Regions from separate parts of the Homo sapiens genome. Here region 2 is linked to region 1. The links are contacts of gene promoters, found by promoter capture Hi-C in blood cells and fetal thymus (Javierre and others, 2016). All regions are on one chromosome and are shown on one strand. Each heading gives the region's core, a stretch centred on a gene start or on the middle of the fragment in contact. The rest is flanking DNA. Distances are from core to core; before and after follow the strand shown.

What was found. Contacts are between HindIII fragments. The CHiCAGO score rates a contact against its expected background, and 5 or more counts as called.
Region 2: a contact is called between a fragment that was not itself captured here and the fragment with the promoter of SLC17A1 in region 1, in 1 of 17 cell types (erythroblasts). The highest score is 6.0, in erythroblasts.

Annotation. Positions count from the first base shown.
Region 1 is chr6:25,830,465-25,834,235 of GRCh38, forward strand. It overlaps SLC17A1 (solute carrier family 17 member 1), which reads right to left and starts at 1,588. Exons shown (of 13, transcript NM_005074.5): 1 at 1,530-1,588; 2 at 60-143. The coding sequence starts at 93. The HindIII fragment of the contact is 946 bases long and covers 728-1,673 here.
Region 2 is chr6:25,326,675-25,330,445 of GRCh38, forward strand. The region is part of intron 2 of CARMIL1 (capping protein regulator and myosin 1 linker 1); the gene reads left to right. LOC124901281 (a long non-coding RNA gene) reads right to left here. Exons shown (of 3, transcript XR_007059512.1): 3 at 1,032-2,063. Among named protein-coding and RNA genes, the nearest start is that of CARMIL1, 49 kb to the left of the region's middle. The HindIII fragment of the contact is 165 bases long and covers 1,791-1,955 here.

The sequences.
Region 1 (3,771 bases), core at 338-2,837:
CTGTGATGTAATATTTAAGAAAAAGAACACCTGTTTAATGGAACAGAATAAAGTGCTACCTTTTTTGGGAGGCAACCGGTTATCCATTTGCATACACGGCTGAAGTTGCTTCTCTTCTTGCTGAAGGGTTTTGCCTCCACCCACTGTGAGTGCAAAACACGTTGATGTCAGCATAATGTAGAGAGGCAACTGACCAAACACTACCCAGTACTCCTCTCTGATTTAAAACCGCTTCCAAGGATAACTTGCTCCATCACAGCAGTGCCCATTCACCTCCATTATGTGCTTCCCTTGATATTTATTTTACTTTTGTGATTGTTTTGGTTGATTAAAAATATATGGAAGACCTGAAAACTACAGAGAACAAACAAATAACCCTGCCAATCCAGAATTCTAAATCCGTGATAATATTCCTCCAAAGTGAGAAATGGAAAGAATTCATTGCCAGTAGACCTGCCCTGTAAGGAACACTAAAAGAAGCCTTTCAGGCAGAAGGAGATTGCTATAGGTCAGAAACTCGGCAGTATGAAAAGAAAGGAAGAATGTCAGAAAAGGAGTAAGCAAAGGTAAAACAAATTCCTTTTTTCCCCCTGTATCTTAATAGAGCTGGAAGATACTATCTGCTTATTGATAAGATCAACTCAAGCAGAGGCTAATCATTCGTTACACGTCCACATGCCCCTGTCCGTATCTTCAGTTTCCGTGGATAGAGCAGCCACTGATGCAAAGCTTTATGGCAGGAAGCTCAGTGGAGAATCAGAATGGAGCAGTCTCCTATCAGGCAACCCCTTACCATCAGAATTCAGCACCAATATGTGCTGGTCAGGTTAGACCTCAGGATTTTACCATATCAGATTATATGATACCTAGTGCCCCAAAGATACCAAAGTCCTGAGATTGGATTTGCAAAATATTTTTGAATAAGCAATTTGTCAACCATCATTATCACACATTGGAACCTCTTCTGGGGCTGCTGTTTATTTCAATACATATATACATACACACCAAATGCACACACAAACCACCCATACGTATGCACCACATACATACATACAACATAAACACATGGTACAAACTCCCCTTATGTTCTCCACACATACACTCCAGACACATAGCAAACCAAACATATAAATACGTTACAATACTGCATCCTCAAAACGGAAGTACAAACTACAAACACCACACACATAACCACACACACACATAAATGATGGGCACAGATGCACCAGGCGTACACAGTGTGCCACACACATTACAGACACAGCACACCACAGCTATACAAGCATCACACACTGTACAACACATACTTCTCTTTCCTTGTGTCCCTGTGAACCTCACACTGATTGCTAAAAATATGTTCTTTTTTCTCTTGTGAAAAGCCTCAGAAGATAGGGCATATTCCACCCCTCCCCACATTTTCCCCTATTGCTAAGTACTTTCAATAATATCTTTGCCAGGGAATGCCCCCTTACGGCCCTCTGGGGAATCAACTGATTGCTCATTTCATTTAATGAGCCCCGTAGACTAACCTGATTCGGGACAAAAAAGTGATTTCTTCTTCCGCTGTGAAGACTTTTCTCTCAACTTTACACAATATTGACTTTCTAGGATTACCAAGTTTAGCCCCATAAATCATTCACCAAATCTTTTGACATCACTGTGTCGAAGTTAAAAGCTTAATTTTTAACTTTACTGTTACCTTTTCCTTAAAGCTTCAGGGAAGGTGTGTGGGTCAAAATCATCCAGTGGACCAGAAACTGGGAATCTGCCAGTAATTTCATGGCATAATAAGCAGACACCCTTAGTCTCTCTCCCTGCCCAGGAGGTAGAGCTTGCCTGCCATAAGTGCTCTCAAGATTTCTCTATTAAGGATGGCTCTGAGTATACAATGCTGTTCTCACAGGAATGTTGTGGCTTTCTAAATGCCCCATAAATGCCATATTAAATTTTTACTCTTAATTCCCTTCCTTCCTTTCTTCCTCCTTTTCTTCCTTTTTTCTTTCTTTCTTCCTTCTCTTTCCCTTCTTCCTTCTCCCTCCTTCCTTGCTTTCCCTCCTTCCCTCACCCTGTCTCCTCCACACTCCTCTCTAAACAGTACATCTGTTTGACATTCAGCATACTCAGAAAGAGGTACATTTTATTGAGGCATGTCCTCTGGAAGGTGTGGCTTCTCTCATGGCTCTTCCTGCAATTACTGTAGGTTCTGGTTCATCCACTTGGTTATAGCAATATCCAGAAACATTAAAAAAAAAACATAGAGAGACAGGATCTCACACTGTCACCCAGGCTGGAGTGCTATGGTGCAATTATAGCTCAGTGCAGACTTGAACTCCTGAGCTCAAGGGATCCTTCCACTTCAGCCCCAAGTAGCTGGGATTACAGGTATGCAACACTGTACCCAGCTAATTGGTAGAGACAGGGTCTTGCTGTGTTGCCCAGGTTGATATCAAACTTCCTGCCACAAGCAATCCTTGTGCCTTGGCCTCCCAAGTGTTGGAATGACAGGCGTGAGCCGTCGTGCCTGGCCCCTAATACTTTTAACTTAGAACTCTTTGAAGGTAATCTACTAATTACTTAAAAATATCCAAGCACTAAAATCAGTGATTTTGCATTATAGGTAATTTATTTCATGCTTAACAAGTTTTTTTTTAATTTTTATCATGCTTTTAAAGTGCTCATTAAATGTTTGGCACATAGCAGATGCTCTGTAAATTCAACCAGTTATTTTTTTCCTCTAAAGAAATGTTGTAAATCTTTAACCCCTTTGCCCAGGAGACTTTGATGTTGTTATTCAGTTAGATTTTTTCTTTTTCAAAAGTCCAGATTCTGCTGGTCCTCTTCTGTGTGTTGCAGAATGTTTGTACTGTCCTGTTTCATGCTGGGCAATTTCTGGCATTTTCTGAAAGAGGAGCCCTTTTAGTGATTGAAACCCCTAGGTCAGCAGTTGTTCAAAGTCCATGTGTTAAATAATAACACTCCCATCTGCCATCAGTATCCCAGTTCTGGATACTGATTACCTGAAGGAGAACCATCTTTCTGTTTGCTGGCCCCAAAGCTTTCTGCTGCTCTGTGAGATTCTTTGAAATTGTTTCTTTTGGATTCTGTGTTTTATGTATTAAATTTTTAAATTTATCATTTTATTATGGAAATGTTTAAGCATACAAAAAAGTAGATCAGTTTAAGATAACTGTGTACATATTCACCCACTTCAATAATTATCAATATTTGGCCATTTGAGTTTTCATTTGGCCTTTTGAATGTTATCAACAACATTCAATGGTTGTTTTTTGTAGCATTTTAAAGCAGATCTCAGACATTATGTCATTTCTTCTATAAAACATTCAGCATGGCTATCTAATTCATTAGGACCTTAAAAGATATAACTAACATGGTATCAGCACATCTAGTAAATAAACAATAATCCCTTAACATCACCTAATATCCAACCTTTATGACAATTTTCCCAATTGCTTCAAAATTGTGTCCTTTATATTTGCTTGATTTAAGTGAGGATTTGAATAGGATCCACATAATGGCGCTTAATTGTTACGGCTGTCATGTCTCTTATTTTATAATAATCCCCTCTCCCAGTTTACATTTGCCATTACTTAAAAACAACAACAATAAAACAGGATCCCTTGCAGAGTGTCTCTCCTAATTGGTTTGGCTAATAGCTCGCTTTTAGGATTATTTGATATATTTTTGTATTTCCTTACATCCTGCAAACCGTGAGGTTTATATAGAGGCTTGGTTAGATTCAGCACAAAAACA
Region 2 (3,771 bases), core at 623-3,122, 500 kb before region 1:
TACAGAAAAGTTTGAGAACCACTGGTCTAGGGATTGCTGGAGGAGATGGTAAGCAGTAGATGGATTCTGGTGTATGTTTTGAAGGTAGGGATGATAGGACTTTTGTATATGGGAGCTGAGGAAAAAGGAGAAATCAGAAATATTATTATTATTATTAATGTTTCAAGACGGAATCCCACTGTCACCCAGGCTGGAGTGCAGTGGCATGATCTTGGCTCACTGCAACCTGATAAGGACCTTGTTTATTGTGATGAGGGAGACTGGTGGGGGTAGCAAAAGGACATAACTTTTGAACACATTGCGTTTGGAGTGTTCATGAAATGTCCAAGTGAAGATGTTGGCTGTTGATGGCAAAATGAGCGTACAGTCCAGAGGGAAGATGTAGTTTCAAATACAGCTCAGCAGAAAGATACAGTTTCCAGAAAGGAATTTGGGACTTGCCAGTGTACAGGGAGTATTTAAAGCAATTGAAATAGGTGTGATATCACCAAGGAGAGAGATAGCAAGGAGAGAGGGTGCAAGAGCGGGCAAAGGACCAAGCTGGAAGGAACTCTTGACATTCACAGGAGCAAGAGCCAGCAAAAGAACAGAAAGAACGGCCAGGGAGAGAAGAGAAGAAAACCAGGAAACTGGTTTCATGGGGAAATATTTCAGGAACAGAGTGATCAACTGTGCTTAATTTGTATGATGAAGCGGAGATTTGTAGCATAGAGATCACTAGGCATTCTATTTGGACTGTCAGTGAAATTGAAATAAAAAGTCAAGAATCAACTTGATTTCCATCACAGGTTTTAGATTAGAAGAAACCAGAGAAACACAGCCCCAATTTTCTATTTGCTAGTTTTCCAAACAGTAAGTTTTCATTGATTTCACTGGCTCCCCTCCGGCTACTATTTGCTGTGCACAAACAAAGTCTGAATGAGCATTTTGTAGTCCTGAAAAGGAGTAGCATATGGGCTTCAACAGCCGGTCATATTTTCTTTTATTACTATATTTAAAGCAACATTCAAGATTAAAAAAAAATTCCTGGCAACTAGCATAACAAGCTGCAATAAAATCATTCCTGGCTATTGATATGGGCTACTTTGTGCCTCATGTCATGTTATTGAATCCAACTTCTTGGAATTGACTGTCTTAATCTGTCACTTAGCAAATTTATATTGGTGAGGAAGAACAAAAACAGATTTATAACTTGCATATCTCTTCAAGCTTCTGTTAATATGCTCAATATTAGAATGTTCTACTTTTAGCGTTTTGGGTCATAAGCTATAGAACATTGGGGCTTGGTGAGAGGATATGGGCATGGGGAGAGGAATGAATATTTGGCATTATTTATGTTTGAACCATTGAGCTGGGGTCTTTAGGTTTATTATTTCATTTAATTCCCACTCTGACGTAGGTGGTATTTCCCTCATTAGTAGATAAGGAAATGAGCTAGTAAAGAAAACTATTTAAATCCAGATCTAAAATGGATCTTTATTCTGTGCCAAGCTCTTGGGGGAAGAGTATGTGTGGAGGAGGAGTTGTGGGGACTCACAGAGCAGTGGCAAGGCAAGCCAGAGATACAGCAAAGGGATATCAAGGACTAATGAGGTACTTTAAAGGAGATCGAGTCATGGTAAGGCATTTAAATTAGTTTTGTTAGCAAGTACTGCATGGAACAGGAAGACTCTGTACATGCTCAGTGTAGGGCTTGGTCCGTCAAGACTGGCTAGGAGTTTTCTAGATAGAGCCTTGAATCTTGCATTACAGTCACTACAGAGCATGAGCTCTGTGGACATTTCATGAAAAGCTTCCTTTCTACTTGGATATATTTTTTTACTTCTTGTGTGCATACTTGATTTATTTACTGTTCCTTATAGAGCTGCAAGGCCTTGTTTCTTTTCTATAGAAGTTATATTTCTCTGAGTTCAGATGTCACATCTTCGTTACCTTCTCTCAAGTTTTGCTATACAAGCTTAGGAACGTCATCTCTTTCTCTTCCAGAGTTATCTTCCATCATGTAGGCTTTGGAGCCACTTTCCTCAGAGCCTCCATTTGCCTCACCTCTTCTTGCCTGGGACCTTGTAAAAACAGTGATTGTGGTAATTAAATTGAGATATGAGGAATATATATAACTATTATGTAGTCATAATAATTAAAAATTTAAAAAAAATGCAATGAGAGGGGAAAAAAATCTCCTGGATTGGTGAGCTAGACAAAACTTCATGTTAATTAACATGGATGCTTTAATCCATCTATTCCTGAGTCCAGGACATCAAATCTTGGGTTCTACAATGGGTGCCAGTCTTAGGAGGGTCATATGTATTTCCAGTCACAAAAGATCTTTCTGTCATGTTGGAGAAGACAAAAGTTTATAAGAATCAGTGGGCCATTTAAAATGATAATGAGCAACTTAGGCGTAAAGCCAGATGTCACAGGCTGGTGGCTTGCAGCCTGCTCTACTGTGCTTTAAATACGCAGTATTTAAAAAATTGATGTTGGTTCCCAATATTTATAAATTGGGAGATATCAGCCATAAATCTAGATTCCATCCTCCCCCACCTTTAAAAAAAAGAAAGTTGGATCTGGGAACACTAGGTCTATGTTTGTGCTTAGCAGGAATCGGAAGAGCTGGGTTGTGACCAGGCTCTTTCTTTTAGCAGTGGCAAGCTCTTTTCAGCTTTCTGCCATCCCGAAAGCACCCTAGTGTTTCTCATTGGCCGTGATGCCCATGTTGACTGCAATTTGTCATTGTCCTCAAGGCTGTCGTTTTTTCCACAGAGCCGGCTTTGCTCTTTGACAAAGCTACTTTGGCCTCCTTATACATTTGAGTTCATTGATCCTTAGCCTAAATGATCAGGACATGACACATTCAGAAGTTTGTATTATCTTGTAAAAGCACATGAGCAAAGTCTGTCTAGTAAGTGACATTGCTGGTATTCAGACCAGGATATGGCTGAGAGGAAGCACATATGTAAATTGAATGCATCAGGGATCTTTTGGAGAAGTCAAACAAGAATTCTGATTACCTCATCAGTGATACCTAAATGCAGATTTCTTCTTGCTTCAGACAAAATTTTTCAAAGATACTCAAAGTATCTCAGCTCTTGTTGTATGTGTGTTTTGAAAGATAGGGTTGAAGAAAACAATGAAAAGATAACAGGGATATCTGTCCTCCAGAGTTGTTCAGGGGATTCAGCATATGAGAAGTTATTTGCGAAGTTTTAGTTCCCAGTCTGGGCATCAGCTCATTATCATTAGTCTCTGATATGAGTTGTTTAATGATGAACTTGTGCAAAGCACTTGATCCTATTCAGCGTCAGACATTCATTGTTAAAAGAACACATTGAGGACACTGTTGTAGGTCAGGAAATTGAAGGTAGGGAGTTGAGGGCAAGTAGAAGAGAGTTTCATTCTGGAGTTAGTTCAGTAAACATTGAATGCTCATGATGTGTCAGGCTTTATGCTGCTACCAGAGGCAGGAAGATAAATAAGACAGAACATGCAGACTTGAACAGTACGGTGTGGTAAGAGGTGTGCCCATGGTACTGTGCGATTATAGACTGGCGTTGGCCCAGTGCAGGGCTAGAGGGATGCTCCATGGTGATGACTGAGTTGAGCCTTAAGGCCCGGATGAGCTGGCCAGGTAGTGATGACAAGAGGGAGAGGGATTTAAAGTGTGAAGTTCAATTTAAGGAACAGAGATGATGCAGGAAGGGCTAAGATATGGAAGGCTTTGATGAAGATTTTGGGGAGCCAGGGAAGAAGGGGAGAGATGATCAGATTTCC